Regions from separate parts of the Homo sapiens genome. Here all the other regions are linked to region 2. The links are contacts of gene promoters, found by promoter capture Hi-C in blood cells and fetal thymus (Javierre and others, 2016). All regions are on one chromosome and are shown on one strand. The core of a region is centred on a gene start or on the middle of the fragment in contact, and the rest is flanking DNA. Distances in the headings are between cores, read along the strand shown.

The links. Contacts are between HindIII fragments. The CHiCAGO score rates a contact against its expected background, and 5 or more counts as called.
Region 1: a contact is called between a fragment that was not itself captured here and the fragment with the promoter of KCNN2 in region 2, in 1 of 17 cell types (endothelial precursors). The highest score is 5.7, in endothelial precursors.
Region 3: a fragment that was not itself captured here is called in contact with the fragment with the promoter of KCNN2 in region 2 in 1 of 17 cell types (M2 macrophages); the score reaches 7.0 in M2 macrophages.

Annotation. Positions count from the first base shown.
Region 1 is chr5:113,690,377-113,693,921 of GRCh38, forward strand. It overlaps LOC107986441 (a long non-coding RNA gene), which reads left to right. Exons shown (of 3, transcript XR_001742841.1): 2 at 683-778. Among named protein-coding and RNA genes, the nearest start is that of YTHDC2, 180 kb to the left of the region's middle. The HindIII fragment of the contact is 2,409 bases long and covers 747-3,155 here.
Region 2 is chr5:114,360,025-114,363,646 of GRCh38, forward strand. KCNN2 (potassium calcium-activated channel subfamily N member 2) reads left to right here and starts at 2,046. Exons shown (of 8, transcript NM_021614.4): 1 at 2,046-3,237. The coding sequence starts at 2,116. RefSeq lists an enhancer at 159-1,075 and a silencer at 1,114-1,323. The HindIII fragment of the contact is 13,933 bases long and covers 1-3,622 here.
Region 3 is chr5:113,630,603-113,634,133 of GRCh38, forward strand. LOC107986441 (a long non-coding RNA gene) reads left to right here and starts at 2,704. Exons shown (of 3, transcript XR_001742841.1): 1 at 2,704-2,762. The HindIII fragment of the contact is 3,549 bases long and covers 105-3,531 here.

The DNA.
Region 1 (3,545 bases), core at 701-3,200, 670 kb before region 2:
TTATCTGGACTGACTGGTGACCAACATAGTCCCCAGCTCTCTTCTGAATTCCACCAAATAATCATGATAGCTGGCTGGGTGCGCTGGCTCAAGCCTGTAATCCCAGCACTTTGGGAGGCTGAGGTGGGTGGATCACAAGGTCAGGATTTCGAGACCAGCCTGGCCAACATAGTGAAACCCCATCTCTACTAAAAATACAAACGACTAGCTGGGCATGGTGGCAGGCACTTGTAATCCCAGTGACAGGAGGCTGAGGCAGGAGAATCACTTGAACCTGGGAGGTGGAGGTTGCAGTGAGTCAAGATCGTGCCACTGCACTCCAGCCTGGGTGACAGAACAAGACTCTGTCTCAAAAAAAAACAAACAAACAAACAAAAAAAAACATGATAGCCTCCCAACTTGGTGTAATGTTAATGTGTGTCCTATTGTGCATGCTGGGACCATTTTCAGTGAGAGATTTATGTGGCACTGACTCAGCAAAGACTGACTTTTGTGATAAAATGAACTAATATTTATTTAGTGCTTTGCAGGTTAAAATTACTTCTCATTTATTGTCTCATTTCATCCTTACGTTAACCCAGTGAAGTAGATCCAGCAAATGTTTTTATCTTTTTTTTACCCATAAGATTAAAGAATATCGTTTGAGAATATTCTTACACTTTAATTTTTTTTTTTCCTGCAGGTGAAATGTCCAGCTGTTAAGTGAATTGGTATGGTATGGTGGCTAGTTCCAAATGAAATGGCTAAGCTTCACCCCTTTGAACACTCAACTTCTCAGGTAATACTTTGGAGGTATAACTGCATGTAGTTGGGATGTTGTAATGGTATGAGTGTTTTATGTATTGATGCTTTGTGCTTTGAACCGGTTTCTTCCAACAAGCTGTTGTGTTGCCTGCCCTTGGAATAATGCAGTTTCTTCATGAATAAGTCACATTAAACATGCACAGGAATTTTTTTTAGCAACATCAACTGTGATATTATTATAATCTTAAAGGAGGAGTGGCAATTTGTGAACAACAACTTTGGCAAAAGGCCTTGTGAAAAATTGAGAATCACTTGTTTATTATTGTTCTTTTAAATCCTCTCAAGTCTCTGCCAAAAAGAGACTTAAATATTTGTTGCATCCAGTAAATATCTGTTGAATAAATGAGTGAATGAATTATAGAAGGCAGCATTATAGATTGATTGATACACCACAGTTGAAATGGACAACAGTGTATCCTGTGCATTGACTAAACTGGACCATTGACCAATTCTTGAATGTTTCCAGCACCTTCCCACCCCATGCTTTTGGTCACTCCATTTCTTTAATCTGTAATGTCCTTTCCATCTCTGTGTATCAAAATTCTACCCAGCCATTGGACTAGATCAAAAGCTATTTTTTTCTCCATTTCTCCTGAAGCCTTTGTGGCTTTTTCCATTGCCAGAGCTGGAAATGACTATATCTCAAAAAGTTCCCATTGCTCATGTCTTTTTTGGTACTTAGTATATTTTCCTTGGAGAGCACATACATTATTATTTCCTGGTAAAGCATATGCATTATATATTTCTCTTTAGAATGTAAGTTCTCAAAGAACAGACTGTACTGTATTCATCTTTGCAACACACACACACACACACACACACACACACACACACACACACACGTATTTTAGCAGGGTGTTACATCTGCTAATTTCTCAACCTATTTTGTTGAATTAATTAGGTTATAGGGATTTAACTATTCTTTCTATATTGTAATACCTATAGTTAAAATTCTTATCCTTCATAAAATTTTTCAAAAAGGTGCTGACAAATAGGAAAAACATTGAAATTTGATTTTCTTTGACAATTTAAAGCCTCTGATAGAAATACAAACAACTAGTAGAATGGACAAGGCCTTGAGAGAATTAAGTTTTTAAAAGACACAGAGCAGATAAACTTGTTTTGATTAGTTAGGGATGAACAGAATCACTACGAGAATCATTGATACTTACTCTAAAAATCTAGTGAGCTAATATAGCATTTTTCTTCAGAGGAGGGCAAAATGTTAATTTTTTGAAGTTTTCTGCTTTGGAATTGAGCACGTGTCTCTTCAGTAGTGTCCAGATTTTTTCATAACGTTGCAAATCAAAACAACGATGTCAAAACAATCCTAGAATTATTTCTAGACCCAGTAATGGAACTGACAATAAGTATCAGGGGTTTGCCTGGGTTGGGGGTGGGGCCAGTGTGGAATGCGTTATTTCTCCCTTACTGTCATTCCAGGCAGTTGCCAATTTGGGCTGATTATTTATAGATGACTCTGCAGTGTGACAGGCAGTTCTCCAAGTGAAGCCTCAGGCAGTGAGGTCCTGAGGAAATAGGAAAGACCTGCACATTCCATAGAGCAATGGGGAAGGAACTGCGGGGCAGCCAGAAGCAGTCTTCCCCCAGAGCCCCCTCCTTGTTTTTTCCTTTTAACACAAATGTTCCCGGGGGGTTGCAAAACACTGATTCCTTTTAAAAGGTGTTATAGTAAATTCCCTAGTGGAAGCCTCCTTCCCTACAGAGACAAGCATTAGAGCCCTCAGAAATCTGGGTTACTGACTTGGAAACCAAATAATTGGGGATAAATGAATGGACGAGAGTAAAGAGGCTCCACATAAAAGGAATCCCTTCCGACAGCATCTTTCATGCTGGGGGACATTAGGATGCCAATAGACGCAGCCCATGGGTTTGGGTTGCCAGGTAACCAGGGTACCCGCAGATTTCCATTTTTACTTTATTTCCGATTCAGGAAAGCCTCGTTTCATACAGAGGAAGGGAAGAACACCTCTCCCCCACCCCGCTTATTTAGGTCTAACTAATAACATTCACCTGTTGGTAGCTAAAATGTTTCAGAGGACGCAGTTGTTTTTAAACATTTAAGCTGTTAGAAAATCAACAGGAAACATCGGGATGAAAACGGGAGGGTGGTAACGTAAAGGGCAGCGGTGTTCCTGCTTGGTATTCAGGCAGCCAGTGGAAAAACCCCACGCGTCCCCCCTGGGGTTTCTCAGTTGGCCTGAGCGCATTAATCCTGCTTCAACAATTCAAGCTCTTCTGCCTCCTTGCTGTGAATTTCCTTGCCTCTAGAAAACATTCATGACATACTGAGGAGACTCACCCCATTTGCTTGCTTTTGTTTCTTTAAAAGCTTATTGGTAACCCATTCTTTTCTAATAAAAATAATCAGCCTTTTATGTGTAATTTTGCAATGCAATAAAACCAAACAGAACATTCTCCACTCCAATCCTGTCAAGCAATATGGGGCTAAGTAGTTTTCTTCCCGTTTGATAGAAAAGCAGCCGAATTGAAGAACATCTGAAATTCAATGGAACAAAGGCTAAATAAGCCTGCAGCCCAACATGTGGTTAGAAATGATCTGTTTGGATAGTGTTTATGTCTCTTGAAAATATAGCTGGGTGTGTAAGTGTGTGAGTGTGTGTGTACTGTTGGTGTTTTGTCGTGTTTATCCATCTGGACCCTGGACAGGAAGCTTGCCAAATTGTCCCTTTAGTGCGGCAATGTGCCCTTTAGTGTGG
Region 2 (3,622 bases), core at 796-3,295:
GATACAGAACAAAAATAGTAATAGATGATAAAAACAAAATGCTGTCTCTGATTGTTAGCCACTAAATTATATTCTTGACCAAGACCATTGAGAAATTCAATTCCGGACAGTATTAATTAGCTCAAGTCCAGGGCTACGGGACTAAAAGCAGCTGTGCACCCCCCACCCCTTTTTTTCTGCTGAATGTTTATTTGCACACACAAAAAATTAAAATTAACATGTGTCCAAAGAACATCATAAAATGAATTATTCATTCCATGGCATTGAAAGCGCACACACGCACACTCTGAAAAGCAGATACCAGGTAAGCAACTTTAGGGCAGCTGCCGAGTAGAATATCAAGAAATTGGATCCAGCTGAGAATTCCAATTACCTAATGACCTAATGAGGGTGATCCGCTTTCACTCTAATTGCTAGGTCTAACTCGTTGTAATAGTCTTTATCATGAAAAGCAGGCTTTAAAATAATTTAAAATGGAAACAAATATTCAACGGGCCAATTTCTTTCACCTTCTTTAGGGGGAGACGGGAATTTGAATTCACAAAGAAATGCAAATGTAAAGACTTAAGATGGAGCAGAAACAAAGAACATAAGGATCACCTAGTGCATTGTGTTGGTACATCTCTTAGAAGAAGACAGCACAGGGAATTTGTGAGACACCAAATGCAATTTTTGTTAGTTTATTAGAGAGTAAATAAATAAATAATGATACCGAACTCCAACAAAACTCCAGCACTGTCCGTGGGCAGCGACTATTCAGCCCAAGCTATCATTCTTAATTTCCCTGCCAGGCTGCGACTACCGGGGTGAATCAGCCCGCGCCAGGCCCCTTTCCCACCCGCCGCTGCAGTTAGGACTTGGCAAAGATGCTCGATATTTGCGTATTTGTGACCGGTCTTTGCTTTGTGTCTGCGCTGCAGGTGAGGAGGAGGAAGAGAAGCAGAAGAGCAGCTGGAGGCCGGCGGTGGCTGAGCAGCCCCCACACCTTTGAGCGAGCCGCCTGCCTCTCCACCGGCAAGGAAGCCCTGGGACCTCCGGATTCGGGCTGCCGGAGGGCCTGAGCGCCAGAGCCCAGGACCCGGCGGCCGGGGGCGCCATCCCCTCATGTTCTGGAGAAGGCGCAAATGTGAGCTGGCGGTAGCGGGGAAAGCCCTCCGCCCCCGCCAGGGGGGACCCGGGAAGCCCGGCCGGCTCTGTCGGCAGACTGCGGGGATCCCCTCCTCCGGCCCCGCCCCCACCCACCCCCGGCCGGGGTGCCGAGGCGGTTAACCCTACCCGCGCCGCAGCGCACTTGGGCTAGAGCGCCGCGCACCCAATCCAGATTCCAGAGCCTGCCGGCTGGGAAAGATCCGGTCTCGGGGTCGGCTATGATCCCGCAGCGGCCAAGGCAGGGCTCAGGCCCCGGGATTCTCCCCACACGCTGCTGCACTGGCGCAGCCGGTCGCCAAACTTTTTCTCCCCAAAGCCAGTGCCCCCGCAGTTACTTGGCGGGCAGCCGGCAGCCCACTCTCGGCGGGATGATCTGGGAGAAGCGGGCGTGGGACGAGGGGGCTGCTGTTTTGCAGCCCTGCGAGGCGTGCAGTCGGAGAAGTGGTCGGGGTTCCACACCGTCCCTGAGCCTGCCCCCGGCCAAGGTGGCCCGACGTGCTGCAGTGGCTGGCGCAGGTGATCCGGGCAGCGCGTCCGGCACTAGTCAAGGGGGCAGCGGCACGGGAGGGAGGGGCGCCTTTCTCTTTTCTCCTCCCCCTGCAGCCCAGCTGCACTGCGTGGGGGCTCTCCATCTCCACGCAATCAGCAGGCGGAATCCCTGCCCTGGAGCGCCCTGGCTCTGGACTGCACCCCCCTAGGGTTTGTCCTGCAGATTCCCCTCCCCATCTTTCTCTGCCACACACGCTTCCCTAAGCCGCGCGCGCCGCAAACTCAGTCTCGGTCCCCGCAGGTGATGTCATGCCCATTGTTTTGGTGCGCCCAACCAATCGGACTCGCCGCCTGGATTCTACCGGAGCCGGCATGGGCCCTTCCTCGCACCAGCAGCAGGAGTCCCCGCTCCCGACCATAACGCATTGCGCAGGGTGCACCACCGCTTGGTCTCCCTGCAGCTTTAACAGCCCTGACATGGAAACCCCATTGCAGTTCCAGCGCGGCTTCTTCCCAGAGCAGCCGCCGCCGCCGCCGCGCTCCTCACACCTGCATTGCCAGCAGCAGCAACAGAGCCAGGACAAGCCGTGCCCGCCCTTCGCGCCCCTCCCGCACCCTCACCACCACCCGCACCTCGCGCACCAGCAGCCGGCCAGCGGCGGCAGCAGCCCATGCCTCCGGTGCAACAGCTGCGCCTCCTCCGGTGCCCCGGCGGCGGGGGCGGGAGATAACCTGTCCCTGCTGCTCCGCACCTCCTCGCCCGGCGGCGCCTTCCGGACCCGCACCTCCTCGCCGCTGTCGGGCTCGTCCTGCTGCTGCTGCTGCTGCTCGTCGCGCCGGGGCAGCCAGCTCAATGTGAGCGAGCTGACGCCGTCCAGCCATGCCAGTGCGCTCCGGCAGCAGTACGCGCAGCAGTCCGCGCAGCAGTCGGCGTCCGCCTCCCAGTACCACCAGTGCCACAGCCTGCAGCCCGCCGCCAGCCCCACGGGCAGCCTCGGCAGTCTGGGCTCCGGGCCCCCGCTCTCGCACCACCACCACCACCCGCACCCGGCGCACCACCAGCACCACCAGCCCCAGGCGCGCCGCGAGAGCAACCCCTTCACCGAAATAGCCATGAGCAGCTGCAGGTACAACGGGGGCGTCATGCGGCCGCTCAGCAACTTGAGCGCGTCCCGCCGGAACCTGCACGAGATGGACTCAGAGGCGCAGCCCCTGCAGCCCCCCGCGTCTGTCGGAGGAGGTGGCGGCGCGTCCTCCCCGTCTGCAGCCGCTGCCGCCGCCGCCGCTGTTTCGTCCTCAGCCCCCGAGATCGTGGTGTCTAAGCCCGAGCACAACAACTCCAACAACCTGGCGCTCTATGGAACCGGCGGCGGAGGCAGCACTGGAGGAGGCGGCGGCGGTGGCGGGAGCGGGCACGGCAGCAGCAGTGGCACCAAGTCCAGCAAAAAGAAAAACCAGAACATCGGCTACAAGCTGGGCCACCGGCGCGCCCTGTTCGAAAAGCGCAAGCGGCTCAGCGACTACGCGCTCATCTTCGGCATGTTCGGCATCGTGGTCATGGTCATCGAGACCGAGCTGTCGTGGGGCGCCTACGACAAGGTACAGGCTTGAACCCCAGCCCACGCTACCGGAGTCGGGCACTGGGTGGTTGGGATGGGCACTGGCGGGGACCCTTTGCGTGCGGATCCCTAGCCTCTCCGGGACGATCAAGGGAGCCCGCCAGGACAGCGGGCGCGTCTAGGACGCGCATCCGTAGTCAGCTAAACAACTCGGAGATGAACCCTTTCCGCGTGCAGCCAAAGTTCTCGAGGCAGTTAAGAGTGCTCAGCGCATTCGGGCACCTTAAGTAAGTGGTTCTGGAAGTCGGTGGGGAAACCATCTGTAATTCATCCCCTCGTGAATTATGTTTAGAAGGGCCCTTTCAACCCGCTCTCTTGAACTCAGAAGTAAGTTCCTCTGGTTTTGCTAGCCTGGAACAGCGGCG
Region 3 (3,531 bases), core at 629-3,128, 730 kb before region 2:
GAACCCAGGAGATGGAGGTTGCAGTGAGCTAAGATTGCGCCACTGCACTCCAGTCTGGGTGTCAGAGTGAGACTCCATCTCAAAAAAAAAAAAAAAAAAAAAGAAGCTTAGTTAAGAGCTCTTACAATGGATAGCAGAGAGGTTATAGGTTATTGATGTTTGCTTTTTTTGCCTTGTTTTTGACATTCAATAGTATATACTTCTGTTTATTTAGATTCCTAATACTTAATCAACATTTGAGAAATACTTAATATTTAACAAATATTAAATCAATAATTTAAATATTCAGATTATAGAAGTTTCTGGAAAGATGATTGAATGAGAGTAAGTTTGCCTTATTCCTCTTCCTGAAACCTACAGATATGAACAAAAAGAGCCAAATAGAAAGGAAAAATTATATCTACAACAAAAGCAGCAGACAGCTAAATTCCACATCACTGACTACTGAAGAATATCTCCTAGAAGCAAGATCACTTGAACCAAATTAATTGAAGATGGATGTTCAGACCTTTCTCCTATATCCTCTGATATTGGGAAAGAAGCAAATTTCAAATCAGTGGATTAAAAAGAGTCTTACTACTAATCTTTAACCTGATGCAGTAAGGATTAACTCTATGGATGGATTAAGGAGAAACAGAGAGAACATTGACTGGGGCACCATTCGGTTTCAAAGAATGACAAGAAAGGTGATGTTAAAAGGAGATCATGTATTCCCACCGCCTTTATTGTTCACGACCTGGTCCCAGACTAGGATAACTTTCAGAATGGCAAGGGTCCTAAGAGGGTACACTCAGAACCAGTATGTTTACATAACAGAGGATTAATCAGTTTGGCAGGAAAATAATTAACATTAAGGATGCTTGCTGGCTGTTTCTGGGCTCACTCCACATTCCTACAGCTGAAAGATCAACCAGAGACCAAGGGATGAATATTGATGTAAAAATCCAAAATAATATATTAAAAAATAGGATCCCTGAAGGACATTTAAAAAGAATACCTTATGTTCAAGTGGAGTTTATCTAGTAATGCAAGGATGATTTAACTTAGGAAATAAAGGAATAGCAGAAGTTAAATGATACCACAAGAAAATAATCGACATTCTGTAAGATAACTGGTCATTTTTCTTCAGAAGTCAGTGCCATGGGACAAAAAATAGATACTTTTCTCGATAAAAGAGTCTGGAAAAATGTAACAATCAAATGTAATGCATGGCACTTGATTAAATCCTGGTTTGAGAAAAGCAAATATGAGACAGTTTTTTTAGATAATTGTAAAAATGTGAATATAAATGGGCCTTATATAATAGTAGAAAATTATTATTTATTTTAAGATATGGTAATGGTATTGTGGTTATGTAAAGATAATGTCATTTTTCTTAGAAGTTGCTAACGTATTTAGGGGTGAAGTGTTATGATGTCTGCATCTTATTTTTAAATGGTTAAAGCAAAGAAAGTAGAAAGAATATGGCAAAATGCAAATAATTTTTGAATCTAGGTAATGGATATGGGTGTTTGTTGTACTATTTTTTGTATTGTTTTTATGCTGGCCATAATTTTAAAAATTGGAGGTAAAAGAATACACTTAAATATATGAAACAATTGAAGAAGAAGTTACAAAAAGTCAAATGAGCAATGCTCAGACAACAGAAAAAAATAGAAAGGGAGCAGAGGTAATGTAAAAAAATGAGTAACAGGCCAGGCCTGGTGGCTCACGCCTGTAATCCCAGCACTTTGAGAGGCCGAGGTGGGCAGATTGCCTGAGGTCAGGAGTTCGTGACCAGCCTGGCCAACATCGTGAAATCCCATCTCTACTAAAAATAGAAAAATTAGCTGGGTGTGGTGGTGCCCACCTGTAATCCCAGCTACTCGGGAGGCTGAGTCAGGAGAATCGCTTGAACTGGGGAGACGGAGGTTGCAGTGAGCCAAGATTGTGCCACTGCACTCCAGCCTGGACGAAAAGGTGAGACTTCATCTAAAAAAAAAAAAAAAAACAAGAAACAAATGAATAAAAACGGAATCAGCAGTAGCACAAAATTTTAAAATCAACACAGCTGAAAACAGAGACCATGACATGAAATAGAATTGAAAAAATCATAGAGGATAAAGTAAAAAATAAAAAGATGAGAGCAATTAGAGAAATGATAGATACTGCTACAAAGATTGGTTACAAAGATCTAACATACATGATTAGTATTCCTAAAGAGCATAAAATATATTCTGGGGCTTCCTACCTAATTGAATTCTTTCAGGGCTCACCATGTTTAAATCTACAGTTAATATCTCAAGGTATTCAAATTTATGTAATAGACAGGGGAGCTAAGGTTTCTATGGAAAATAAAAAAAAATTAAAAAGTGAAAAACTTTAAGGAAGGCAAAATGGAGATTGTGGCAGAGGTATTTTAAAGCAAGTAGTTTTGACAGTAAAATGACCAAAAAAGAAAGTTTTAATAATTATGAAAATATGGTACTATTCAATGCTATCATGCTTTGAGGAAATGTCTGATTCCTGGTTTGGACATAAAGAAAGAGGAAGAAAGGAAATATTCTGAAGTCACTTGCTCACATGCCAGTTTCTCCAACTCTGATTATTGTTTCCCTATAGTTAATGTTAGATCTTTGTAGCATTAGTTCTTGCAAGCTAAACAATTTTTATACTAAGTAGGAAAAGGAACTGGTGAAAAAAGGCAACTTCTGTTTTCTGTATTCTGACAGGATGAAGAATTGGCTGGAGGTAAAAATCTCATTGAAAATCTTTGTCAGTGGGTGAGTTCTCTTTTTTTACTTCTAGGATTTCTGTATCCTCTTAGGATACAGAAAACAAAATTACCTACATTTCACAAAACTGTCCTGATCACACTTAGGAGTTTAGTAGGAAAAAGAAAATGGAAAGAAAAGGCTGAAAAACTATATTATCTTCACATGTACCTTTCTTACTTCTTTCTCAAGTTACCAGCTATTTCTTACTTCTTACACAGGTTACCAGCTCTTCCTTACCATTATTCCTACAGAAGTTCTGTAGACCAAATACAGGGTTCTAACTTACGGTTCTTCTATTTATTTATCTGTGTGACTTGGGAAAGTTTTGAAATATGTTCTAGTTTTGCCTTTGCAAAATGCAGATAATATGCACTTCATAAGGTTGTCGTGAGGACTAAACAAGATATCATGGAAAATATCTGGTTCAGAGTCTGGGGCAGAGAATGCCCTCAGTAATATCCTGATGTTTTTTATTCAATGATAAGAGCTCATAAGCAAGGAAATAGGATATTCCAAAAAGAATACCTCCTTGTTTGAAGGATTTAATCCATGACATCTGTTACATTACTCTATAATCTTAAAATTAGCACAGCATAGAATTCTGTGGGACATTTTGATGAATGAAAATAATTAGAAATTTTATTTTTGGTTCAAATAATGGTCCTTGAGCATATGAAAGTCTCCCTAATTCATTGGCAATGGGTTTTTAAACTCCATTGGATCTACGGCTGTGAACCTACTGTACACATCCTCTGGGCATTCTTAACAGGTTTTA